Regions from separate parts of the Homo sapiens genome. Here all the other regions are linked to region 3. Evidence: promoter capture Hi-C in 16 types of primary human blood cells and fetal thymus (Javierre and others, 2016). All regions are on one chromosome and are shown on one strand. Each heading gives the region's core, a stretch centred on a gene start or on the middle of the fragment in contact. The rest is flanking DNA. Distances are from core to core; before and after follow the strand shown. Region 1 overlaps USP53 (ubiquitin specific peptidase 53). Region 2 overlaps USP53 (ubiquitin specific peptidase 53). Region 3 holds the start of MYOZ2 (myozenin 2).

Region 1 (4,408 bases), core at 1,469-3,968, 92 kb before region 3:
CATGTGGAAGCAGAATAGGCTTCTTGGAGAGGTTACATTTTATTATATATTGAAAAACGAGCACAAGTTTCATGCGTATGTTGGGAGGATGAGATGCATTTCAAAGAAATGCTATGAACCAAGTAATCAAGTAATATACACAATAAAGTACGAAGTAGACAGAACCAGGGGTCAGATCATGGCTGGTCTTGAAGGTCACATAAGAAATTTGGACTTTATCTAATAGGTGGCAAAAAGCTTTTGTTGGTTTTAAGCAGAGAAATTACAATCAGACTTGTGGTATAAATAGACCATGGCAATGAATAAGATGAATTTGAGGTAAATTAATCTGCAAGTAGAAGGGGTAAATTGGGAGGCTGGTGAAGGAATGCACAGGAGAGATGACATAGGCCTGCACAAGGGCAGTGGTAGCATAAACAGGGGATGAATATGACACTCTTTCAGAAGTAAAGTCCACAAAACCTATGAAGCAGAGAGGAAAGTAAAGAAAGTTCCCAGGTTTCTAGAGTGAATGGTAGTAGGACTGTTATACCAACTCAAATAGTATTTATAGGAAAATGAGCTTGTTTGAGAGAAAATATTGAGTTCCATTTGGGATAAAATGAATGAGTTTCTACAGAACATTCAAGGGGAGAGACCCAGTAAATATTTAGATTCAAAAGGTAATCCTGGGGAAGAGTTTAGGGTTGGACATAATGGATTTTCAAGTCATGAACATATAAACATAAGAAACCATAAGAATAGATGAAATGGTAAAGAAAGGACATGCGAGTGAGAAAAGTGGCAGCCTGAAAGAATATCAGAAACACCAGGTTTATGGTAGTAATTATTATACTGGAGCCAAAAGGACAATATTTTAGTCTTTATTTCACATAATAGCACCATATATAGATGGCTGGATGGATGACAACAGATAGCCACTACAGTCTATGTTGCACGCAATTGCTATTGTATCTGACAGAGGTCTAGAGCTGATGTTGCTAAGACCATTCAGATTTATAATCCCCAGGCTGAATACCTGGGTAGCAAAAAGGAAGGCAGAGTAGAGGGAATCTAACTCTAACAGAAGGTCTATAGGAACAGCCAGTAATTAACTCCTTCCTCCCTTTTATTCATCTAAATCTACTTACACACGCAACTGTAGTTTTCCTTACTCTTCCTTCTATTTTATATTACTTTTTCTATTTATATTTTAGTCTATTTTCTGTTCAGTAAGATCCAAATTAAACAATTCAGAGGTCACTAGTATCTCAGTGACAGCTAATTTTCCTACGTACAATATTTTTGTACATAGGATGTTTAAGTTAACCAGCTTTGGAGGTGTAAGTTGTAATCAATAAAATTCATCCCATTAGTGTACAGTTCAGTAAGTTTTGACAAACCTACAGTCATGTAACCATTACCACAATCAAGCTATAGAACATTTCCATCACCCTGAGAAGCTCTCCTGTGCCCCTTCACAGTCAATAACCTTCCTCACTGTGGTAGGCAGAATTCTACCACAGTGCACCCACACCCCCATCCCCAGATTTCATACCCTATAGAAACCTGTAAATATGACAAGATATGTATTCCATTATCTCATTATGTTATATGGCGCAGTTGACCTAAAAATATGGCGATTATCTGGTTGGGCCTAATGTAATCACATGAATCCTTAAAAGCAGAGTGCTTTCTCTGGCTGGTGACAGAAAAAGAGAGATTTGAAGCATGAGAAAGACTTGATGTGCCATTGCTGCTTTAAAGGTGGAGGGGGCCTCAACATGAGAGAACAGATCCTGGTTGACAGCTAACAAAGAAACAGGAACCTCGCTCCTACAAGGAAATACTTCTGCCAACAACCTGAATGAACCCAGAAGCAGATTCTTCTTCCTTAGGGCCTCCAGATAAAAGGCCAGCCCATTTGATGCTTTGACCACTCTTGTAAGATCCAGAGCACAGAATCCAGTTAAAAACGACCTAGACTTCTGACCTACTAACACTGTGAAATAATAAATGTGCATTGTTTTAAGCTGTTGTGGTAATTTGTTACATAGTAATAGAAAATTAATACATTCAACCTGCAAGAAAACACTGATACACTTTCTGTCCTAGTTTCAACTTCTCTAGAATTTCTCATAAATGGACTCATACTTTTGAGTTTCATCTGTATTGCTGCACAAATCAGAAGTTGTACATTCCTTATTACTGAGTAATATTCTTTTGCTTATCTCTTTACTACTGGTAAAGGGAGATTAATTGCAGTTGTTTCCATTTTGGGGTTATTATGAATAAAGTAACTATACACATTCAAGTACAAGTCTTTCTGTGGATACATTTCTCTTGTAAATACCTAGCAGTGGGACTGCTAGGTTGTATTGTAAATGCATGTTTAACTTTATAGAAAATTGCCAAAGTGCCTTCCTAAGTTTTTGAATACTATGCAATTTTTTTTCTTTCTTTTTTGAGACGGAGTCTCGCTCTGTCTCCCAAGCTGGAGTGCAGTGGCGCGATCTCGGCTCACTGCAAGCTCCGCCTCCCGGGTTTACGCCACTTCTCCTGGCTCAGCTTCCCGAGTAGCTGGGACTACAGGCGCCCGCCACCACGCCCGGCTAATTTTTTGTACTTGTAGTAGAGTCGGGGTTTCACCCAGTTAGCCAGGATGGTCGCAATCTCGTGATCTGCCCGCTTCGGCCTCCCAAAGTGCTGGGATTACAGGCGTGAGCCACAGCGCCCGGCCCTGTAGAGGTTTTAAAGTTTTGGCTCTTATGGTTAGCTCTATGATTCATTTCAAGTTTGTGTGTGTGTGTGTGTGTGTGTGTGTGTGTGTGTGTGTGTGTAGTGTTAGACAAGGCTTTGGATTAATTTTGTCCAAACAAAATCTAATTTTCCAGCACCATTTTTTAAAATGAGTATGCTTTCCCTAAATTGCTTTGGAATACTTTGTCAAAAATTAATTGATTATAGCCAGGCACAGTGGCTCATGCCTGCAATCCTAGTACTTTGAGAGGCTGAGGTGGGAGGATCACTTGAGCCCAGGAGTTTGAGAGCACCTTGGGCAACACAGTAAGAACCATCTACAAAAGTACAAAAATTAGCTGGGCATGGTGGCACATGCCTATATAGTCCCAGCTCCTCAGGAGGCTGAGGTGGGAGGATCGAGTGAGCCTGGAAGGTAGAGGTTGCAGTGAGCTGTGATTGTGCCACTACACTTCAGCTTGGGTGACAGAGTGTGAGACCTTGTTTCAAAACAAAAACAAAAAATTAACTGATTACTTACATAGTAGATATATTTCTGGTCTCTCTATTCTACTAGGTTGGTCCAAAAGTAATTGTGCTTTTTGCCATTACTTTAAATGAATTATAAATATTTCAGGTATGTCTAGAATTATACCAAAACCACACTCTTTCAAAAAAAATAAATAACGTCTTAACAATATTGAGACCTCCAATCTAGGAATATTATGTCTTTCTACATTTTTTTAGGTCTTCTTTCTCTTAGAAATGTTTTGCTAATTTAGGTGTACAGGTTATACATATATATTTTTAAATTTATCTCTAAGTTTTTCATCTTTTTTTGACATTATAGTAAATGATGTTTTCAATTTTGGTTTCCAATTTTTCATTACTAACATGCAGAAATATAATTGATTTTTTGTACTGACAATAAAAACTGCAACCTTAGTTCTAGGAGCTATTGTATAGATTTCTTAGATACTTTTACTTCTTGCTTTCTAATCTGTAAGCCTCTTTCATCTTGTTCTTGCCCTACTTAACTGGGTAGGTAGGACGTCCTGTACAATGCCAAAAGGAAGAAGTAAGAACAGAAATACTAATCTTGCTTCCAATCTGAGATGAAATCATTCAGTCTTTAACCTTATGTGTAGGGTTAGCTGTAGATTTTTACAGGTATCTGTATCAGGTTGGGTAAGTTCCCCTTTATTCCTACTTTGTTGAAACTTTTATATTAAACAGTTGTTGAATTTTGTCAAAATTTTTTAAATTTTGTAAATACTGAGATGATTATATGATTCTATTTGTTGACAGTTTAAATGGTTGTTGAATTTTGTCAAAACTTTTAAATTTTGTAAATACTAAGATGATTATATGATTCTGAGTCTTAATGCAGTATATTACAATGATTTTCAAGTGTTAAATCAACCTTGTATTCCTGTCGATGATGCCAATTTATCAAAACCTATTCTTTTTATGCATTTTGGACTTAATTTGCTAATAAATTTTAAATAACTTTTACATCTGTATTCATGAGGGATTTTCAGTCTGTAGTTTTCTTGTGATATCTTTGTCTGATTTTGTTACTGAATTTTTTTTTCTTTGTTTGTTTTGTTTTTGTTTTTGAGACAGTGTCTCGCTGTGTCGCCCAGGCTGGAGTGCAGTGGCGCAATCTCAGCTCACTCCACCTCCCGGG
Region 2 (4,678 bases), core at 215-2,714, 110 kb before region 3:
TATAAATCATTCTAGGATAAAGACACATACACAGGTATGTTTATTGTGGCACTATTCACAATAGCAAAGACGTGGAACCAACCCAAATGTTCATCGATGATAGACTGGATTAAGAAAATGTGGCACATATACACCTTGGAATACTATGCAGCCACAAAAAAGGATGAGTTCATGTCCTTTGCAGTGACATGGATGAAGCTGGAAACCATCATTCTCAGCAAACTGTCACAAGATCAGAAAACCAAACACCACATGTTCTCACTCATAAGTGGGAGTTGAACAATGAGAACACATGGACACAGGGAGGGGAATATCACACACTGAGGCCTGTGGGGGGTGGGGGGCTAGGGGAGGGATAACATTAGGAGAAATACCTAATGTAGGTGACAGGTTGATGGGTGCAGCAAACCATCATGCCACGTGTATACCTATGTAACAAAACTGCAAGTTCTGCACATGTAACCCAGAACTTAAAGTATAATTAAAAAAAAAAATCCTACTTGAATCATCTAGGTAGTCTGTATAAATAACAGCAAAACAAAGGCTCTATATCTACACTAACACCATAATGCAGGCAATGCAATCTGCAGTGAATTTCATATAAATATTGATTTACAATATAGATCAATAAGGGGCATTTATTTCTTTAACATAATTCTTTTTACCAAAGCTTAACCAATGGATTCTATTCATTAGCTAACTTCTCTCTCCTCTGCCCCAGGATATTTAAGACCATTTAATAATTTAAGCCTAGACTTCTAGACATTTTGTGAATTATCATATCATGTATTAGAATAATTCATTTAAGTGAAAGTAAAACTATAAAGTTTAGCATTGTTCAAAATATATTTGTTTTAAGCAAAAAATCAATTATAAACAGAAGAAATATGGAAAGTATATTTCATTACTGTGTGTGCCATTATTGACATTTTAATCAACATGCAAGTGTGCTAGGCAAGATGCTAGTCAATGAGCTTTCCATCTAAGGAAACCATGAAGATGCTCATTTTTAAAAAGGTGATTAATAATATAAAAATGCCAAATGAATTCTACAGAGTAAATTCTACAGAGAATGGATTGGGTGGTTTGGTCATGTGTTATCTGGTAGGCATAGACTTAGTCTGAACCTTGACAAAATGATAGATTTTTAAAGTTTTGAGTATTTCAGGAACTTGAGCAAAGGCTGCTAGTAGAACAGCCTTATAAATAAGGACTATAAACAAGAATATAAAAATATATGTGAGGAACAGAATGGAATAATCTCACTAGGAAGAAAAATCTAGGGATGAAGCACTGAGGGAAGGTGGAGTTTAATCTAAAGGGCCTTAAATATCAGAATAAAAAGTCTAGATTTAAATCACAGAAATATTTGAAGAGTAAGCGTTAACCTGAATAAAATCATATTGATATGGTGGTTATTTAAAAAATAGGACATAAGGCCAGTCGCAGTGGCTCACGCCTGTAATCCCAGCACTTTGGGAGGCTGAGGCAGGCAGATCACGAGGTCAGGAGATCGAGACCATCCTGGCTAACACAGTGAAACCCTGTCTCCACTAAAAATACAAAAAATTAGCCGGGCATGGTGGCGGGCACCTGTAGTCCCAGCTACTCAGGAGGCTAAGGCAGGAGAATGGTGTGAACCCAGGAGGTGGAGCTTGCAGTGAGCCGAGATCACACCACTGCACCCCAGCCTGGGTGACAGACCGAGACTCTGTCTCAAAAAAAAAAAAAAAAAAAAAATAGGACATAAATAAACAGGTTGAATGGACACCAATAGGAGGCTTAAATATACTGAACTGGAAGAAGTTGTGGTAGGGAATTAATACGGAAAGAAAAAACTTCTGAAAGGGTTTCTGATGAAAGAATTTACAAACTTTGCTGACTAGAAACAGAAAGAAGAGAGAAGAAATGGTTACAACTTAATTATAGGTGACATCAATATTAATGAGACATTTAATAATTAACATACCTATTTTACATGTATAAAGTATGTACCTGATCAAAGGAATGCTCTACTTACTAATATGGTGGTAACACAGAGCCTGAGAACATCAACCTCAGTGATTTTCAACCTGGAATGTGTGTAACAGGCTGTTGCCCCTGTTACCCACCAAAATCCCACCAAAATCCCCTTCTCTCCCAGTGAGAATCATTGCATGCAATGATAACTATTACTGCTGGGAATGTGCTGCATATGTGGTCCCTATAGTGGCAGAACACTGATTTAAGTGATATCATTTATATTCAGCAAAGCTTATTGCTCCAACTAAGTTTTAAAACATTTTAGTAGCCTAAGAGTAAAAATTAGAGCAACAAAAATAATCAAAACCAAAAGTACAACACAAAACACAGATGGATTGAAGTTGAGGCTTGAAGGATGGGTAAGATATGGATCTACTGGACAGTTTTGACATTTTTCTATTGTTCTAAATTTTTGTTTCATTTGTCTCAACACTTGTACCATCTAAGGAATGAAAACTACTATCCTGACTTCTTAAGGAATATCAGAAACACTTACAAAGCACTCCGCAGCATCATCCATAAGGCCAAGTTGAAATCGCTGCTCATCTTTGAAACTTTCTGCAAGAGCATGCCTTATGTTATCTGAGGGAAGTGCTTTTTCTCGACTGTGTTGGAACTGTGCAAATATCGTCTGGGAATCGACAAGAAAATCAGTAAGTTTAATGCCAGCTTTAACGACATTTCAGTAATTTCATTACAACACAGAGAAACTCAAAACACTATACTTGGAAAATAATACAGAAGTCTTTTGCTCTAAAATTTCATACAAAAATTAATTATTTGTATCATCAAGTGTAGAAATGTTTGCACCAGCCTCTAAATCAAATGTTAGCAGACACAAGAATTAAACATGTAGGGTTCCCAGGTCCCACCCTCAGAGGACACTGCTGGTCCTGAGCATTTCAGACAAGAGATACCCAACCTGTATTTCGGAAAATAATACAGAAGTCTTTTGCTCTAAAATTTCATACAAAAATTAATTATTTGTATCATCAAGTGTAGAAATGTTTGCACCAGCCTCTAAATCAAATGTTAGCAGACACAAGAATTAAACATATAGGGTTCCCAGGTCCCACCCTCAGAGGACACTGCTGGTCCTGAGCATTTCAGACAAGAGATACCCAACCTGTATTTCTAATCTAAATTAAGAAACTGGAAACATCATTCAGTTTCTAATCTAAACCTAAGAAACTGGAAATATGAGATTATAGTTGTTAATATGATTTTCAATTTTCCTTATTAAACTTAAGCAAGAAAAAACATTTTAATAAATTCCAATTTTATGACAATCATCTTACATGGAAGAAAGAAAAGTTTTCAATGACAGCCCACCAAAGTAGTATTGGTCACATTCAGTCCCATGTTAGCTCAAAGGGTCATGTCATCTCAAAAAAAAAATATTTTTTTAAGATCAACATACAAAGAAAACATTTCACAAATCTGTTTCACTACAGCAAAAAAATACAATTTATAAATAAAATAAGAAATAAAAAAACAGATGTCATCTGATATTAGATACCCAGAACTATAATTATTTTAGCCATTATAGTAGCTAAAATTATGAATAGTAAAAGATGAAAAATAACTTTCAGATTTTATCTCTTATTTAGGCAATTAACTTCCAGGTAATGTTTAAGATTTTTAATCCTATGCGAGACTGTCACTCATTGATTCAACATATATTTTTTGCCTCCCTCGTATATGTTAGGCATTGTTCTACCCTAGAAAAATGGATGACAACCCTGCCCACATGGAGCCTATATTCTAGTTATAGTAATGAGAAGGCAAAGAAGTAATTATATAACATCAGAATGTGATAAGTACAGTAGAGAAAAATAGATACAAGAGAGAAAAATAAAGCAGTGTAACGGGGATAGGAATGCCAGGGATATTACAGATGGAAGCAGCTTACCTTTTACCTAGGGTAGTCGGGGAAGGCCTCACTAATGGAAAAGTAACATTTGAGGAGAGGCATAAAGGAAATAAGGGTGTTAGCCATGAGGACATCTGGAAGAAAAGCATTCCAGACAAAAGGAATAACAATGAGAAGACTTTGAGGTGGGGATCAGCTCTGAGAAATAGAGCCCAGTTTGGCTAAAATGCAATGTGTTTATGTGTGTTTTTGACAGGGGAGGAGAGGAAGGCAAGCACAGGAAAGAGGCAGGTGACTGTGCAGGGCTACAAGAGAGTTGGTCTAGGAAATTAATAATCCTAGGTTTTACAATTAGACAAAACATTCAAAATTTACTGTGGAATAAATAAAATGTGATACTGTAATGTGATCTAGGTTCATTCTTCATGTCCTAACAATAACCCTATTTGGCCATGTTCTTAAAAAAAGAGAATATAAAATTTCTTCCTTTGGTGATTTACTCAAACAGCCTTTTCAGGAACATAATGAAATTAAGGCACATACATTAAAAAAAAAAAATTCTGTGTGTCTATGTGTATGTGTTCATTATGAATATTCAAGAATGTAAAAAAATGAAACATTTATCTCTAAAATGTATAACAAAATCTTAAGTTCTCTGGCAAAACATTTCAGTGACACGAATGAGTTGCTAATATATACTGGATGCTCTGTTTCTTTGTCTTCCTTCTATTTTCCTCAGCAGAGCAGCCACAGGGATCTAGTTCAAATATTATATCTGGTTAA
Region 3 (3,986 bases), core at 85-2,584:
AGAAGTTACAAATAAAAGTAGACTTTGCACACAAAATATGTTAGTAAATCAATTAACAAATATGAAGGGTTAAATAAATAAGCAATAGAAATGGAGTTAAATAATAAGCAATAAATATGAATTCCAACTTAATAGCTTGATAAAAAAGATGATAGAACTTATTTTGAGTGATTTATATAATGTAAGGTAAAAGAAATCAAGCTAAACCATGTGGGATGGACAATAAAGACAAGATTGTATGAGACTTGTCCAGAAAAAAAAAAGAATCGAGAGTGATCTTAACTTATAATGTGGAAGGCAAGCCAAGCAGAATGTACATCAGCTGTCAGATTGCTTCATGCCTTTTACAGCAGTTGTTCCTCTGAAAATAGCTTCCAAATGAGAAAGGATGACTACAAAAGGATTAGTTACCATAGGCTTTTCTACACCCCCTAGAGCTCCAGGTTTGTTATGACAGAACAGCAAGAATCTAAAGGAAGTAAACTATGGAATATTAAACAACGTCAGGATGGAGCCACATTCATGCTGTGCTATATTAATGCTACGAAGGATTTTTATTGATACCATTTCCATGGACTTCCTTCATGATGGCTGTTGCTTGCTGTTTTCTCTGCTTCATCATAGTATTATGTGATAGCATGGTTTTTTTGTTCCCTGTTAAAAACAAAGGGACATTATTGAGGCAATGTGAAGAACTCATTTGGAGTGTCTTATAATCACTGTTTTGAAAGACAACATCTTTGTTCTTTATTAAAAAGTTATTATCGCTTGCTACTGAAAGACTTCAATACGCATTCCTTATCTGGTGACAGAGTATGTTATTCATTGACAGGCAATGTCACAGTGAACAGAGACCCAGTCTGGACATTAATACAATGATCATCAGGCAGTGAGAAACAATGAAATTGCTGGTCTCCTTTCCCCTCCCTCTCTTTTCTCCACAGTATTTTAGTCTGTCATTGTCTCCTCACTGGCCTTCATTTGTACCAGCATCACACTCCATCAATTCCAGCAAACTGTAAGAATGAAGAAGACACTAGACTAAACCAGAATTCTTTGGTGGTAGCATTTTAATATTGGCAACAGCTGCCCTTTAAAGCAGAGAATGCCCATTTATGAGTCACAACTCTGAATATCCTTGGACAACTGACTAATGAAACATTTTAGGAAACAACATACTCACCTTGCTGTTAGATTGTGCTTTTTCAGCGGGGATGAATCCCAGTTTGTGGAGGAAGACTCTGGAGATGGACTATGGATGGCACTTGGGCCTGATGGTTTTTATCCTTGAACCTGGGACAGCATGGTCCCTACTCTGACTCAAACTGGGGACTGAGCTTTTCTGAAGAGACTGGCATTCAGCTGACATCAACTGGCTATATATAGCACCAAATACTTTAGCTACTCATATCTTCCTGGCGAAAGGGAGGAACAGGGAAAGATTAGGCTCTCTCCATTGTGTTTCTAGTTTGTGAGATGGTTAAATGAAACGTTCATTGGACATGCAGAAAGTTTTTAGTGAGCACTTTCTGTTGAACAGATAGTAGCCAAAAGGGATTTTAAACACTTTTAAACATCTAGCTCTTATGTTACATGTTAATTGAGGTGGCAAGAGACACATGCATGAATCAGAACAGAATGATAGATTTTTCATAATTAAAATGAACAATATAGGCAGTAATATCTATGTAGACTCAAGAAGAAAGGAAGTAATGTGGGGTGGATCAATAGAGCCAGTTCTTAAGCTGTAGTGAGAACTCATGCTAGGTTGAGAAAAGTATGTAGTATTTGAATAGTGAACTCAGGAAGCATTTTGAAATGAACCATTAGAGGATAAGCCATGAAGCTGGGTAAAAGCTGAGACTCATAACTGGGTCATGCTTTTTGAAGGGCCTACAGAGACCAGTCCCTGCAAAGTTGACCAGTCTTTACAATGTCTAGGGTCAAGGATTTTCATTTGCAGGCCTGACAAGATTTGAAAGGTTTGCCTGTCAAAAGGTTTGGCCTCCTTGATGGTCCCTGGACACAAAAACGTGCTCTCATCTCTGGGCTTTTCCTTTTACTGTTTCCCCCTTTCCTTTTACTATTTCCCCCTTTCCCTGGTTGAAATGGTGTCCTCAACAGATAATCATTATGTTAATTTTGGTTTCCAAAATGAAAATAGATACTGTATTCCTTTTACTATTTCCCCCTTCCATACTTTCCCTCTACTCACATGGCACAGTCATGCATTCAGGACTCTGCTCAGATAACAATCCCTCATAAAATCCTTCCCTTATCACCTTGTCTAAAATATCACACTGTGCCACTCTCTAGTCCCTTACTCTGCTTCATTTTCTTTATATTTTTCTATTAGTTAAGATAAAAGTCAAATGGGAGTGACAGAAACCCCCCCAAAACAGAACTGTAAAAAGATGGAAGATGTTTCTCTCACAGGTAAGCTTAGTCTAGAAGTAAGTAATTGAGGGTTTGCATGACTGACATAATTATCAAGGGCTCAGTTACCCTCTAACTTTTTGCTCCACTATCCCTAAAATGCAGACCCCTTGGGCCTAATTGGCTGCCCCAGCTCCAGTCAGCATGCATATATTTCAACCAGCAGGAAAAAGAAAAAAAAATGAGAAGGGAACACTGTCTTCTTTTCAGAACATGTCTGATATTTTGTTCATACTTCTGTTTACATCCCATTGGGCAGAACTTAGCCATATAGCCGTACATAACTCAAGAAAGGTTGGGAAGTGTAGCTTCTATTCTAGGTGGTCATGAGCCCAATTAAAATTCATACATAACTTACTAACAAAGAAATAATTGTTGCTGAGTGACAACTCAGTTTTTTCACTAAGAACATGCCAACATTATTCTATCTATCTATCTATCTATCTATCTATCTATCTATCTATCTATCTATCTATCTAGCAAAAGTTTATGTTATGTACAATTCTAAAGGTTGAAATGGCGTCCTCAACAGTTTTACTAGCACCTGTAATCCCAGCTACTCTGAAGGCTGGGGTGGGAAGATTGCTTGAGTCCAGGAGGTAGAGGTTGCATCTATTTATGTGATATCTCTTTTTTCTACTAAACTATGAATCCTATAATGGCTTGGGCTTTGTATCTTCAGCAGTTGGAATTGTATCTGGCATATGGTAAGCACTCAATATTCATTGAATGAATGAATAAATGAGTAGGTTGGAGATTAACTGCAGAATGCATTAAAGGTTTGGCATGAGTTTGGAATTCAAATGAACAGTCGCTTGAATGTACAAAGGTGGTGGCTATTTGTGGGAGGAATTGTATTTTATAAGATTGAAATCGGTTATACATTTTGGTGCCTGATCATAGGATTGAAAGTTTAAGGTTGTAAATCACAGCACTTTGGGAGGCCAAGGTGGGTGGATCGCTTGAGCCCAGGAGTTTGAGACCAGCCTAGGCCAGCTAGCAAAACTCTGCCTCTACCAAAAAAGCAAAAACAAAAACAAAAAACCCAAAAATTAGCCAGGTGAGTGGCATGCACCTATAATCTCAGCTACTCCAAAGGCTGGGGTGGGAAGATTGCTTGAGTCCAGGAGGTAGAGTTTGCAGTAATCCATGATCAAGCCACCGCACTCCAGCCCGGGCAAGACCAGACCTTGTTTAAAAAAAAAAAAAAAGAGAAAGCTAAAGGTTGTAGATAGCAGGTTTAAGCTAATCTAGCTAACCTATTGCAATTGTTTCTAAACAAACCATTTGCATTGAAAGTATAATTAGGTATCAAATGAGAAACAATTTTGCCAAAGCAAATAAATTTAAATTCCCTCTCAAAATCCCTTGAGTGCCCGTATGTTCCTGGCTGTAGCCTTTACCATAGTATGCTATTAGACAAGTCTTTTAAACTCTGTTTTCTCATCTGTAAAATGGTGATTACAGTATCTATCACATAAAGTCATGGACATTTTACATGGGACAATTTAGAAATTCCTTATACTTAGTAAAAATTTAATAAATGATTT

The links. Contacts are between HindIII fragments. The CHiCAGO score rates a contact against its expected background, and 5 or more counts as called.
Region 1: a contact is called between a fragment that was not itself captured here and the fragment with the promoter of MYOZ2 in region 3, in 2 of 17 cell types (naive CD8 T cells and M1 macrophages). The highest score is 5.9, in naive CD8 T cells.
Region 2: a contact is called between a fragment that was not itself captured here and the fragment with the promoter of MYOZ2 in region 3, in 8 of 17 cell types (M2 macrophages, naive CD8 T cells, naive CD4 T cells and 5 more). The highest score is 8.1, in M2 macrophages.

The regions. Positions count from the first base shown.
Region 1 is chr4:119,225,668-119,230,075 of GRCh38, reverse strand. All of the region lies in intron 3 of USP53 (ubiquitin specific peptidase 53), which reads right to left. Among named protein-coding and RNA genes, the nearest start is that of USP53, 15 kb to the right of the region's middle. The HindIII fragment of the contact is 4,958 bases long and covers 240-4,408 here.
Region 2 is chr4:119,246,723-119,251,400 of GRCh38, reverse strand. USP53 (ubiquitin specific peptidase 53) reads right to left here. Exons shown (of 19, transcript NM_001371395.1): 7 at 2,519-2,653. Among named protein-coding and RNA genes, the nearest start is that of USP53, 36 kb to the right of the region's middle. The HindIII fragment of the contact is 1,583 bases long and covers 673-2,255 here.
Region 3 is chr4:119,133,180-119,137,165 of GRCh38, reverse strand. MYOZ2 (myozenin 2) reads right to left here and starts at 1,334. Exons shown (of 6, transcript NM_016599.5): 1 at 1,184-1,334; 2 at 565-654. The coding sequence starts at 640. It overlaps LOC102723967 (a long non-coding RNA gene), which reads right to left. Exons shown (of 3, transcript XR_001741422.1): 3 at 3,612-3,986. The HindIII fragment of the contact is 2,789 bases long and covers 1-2,443 here.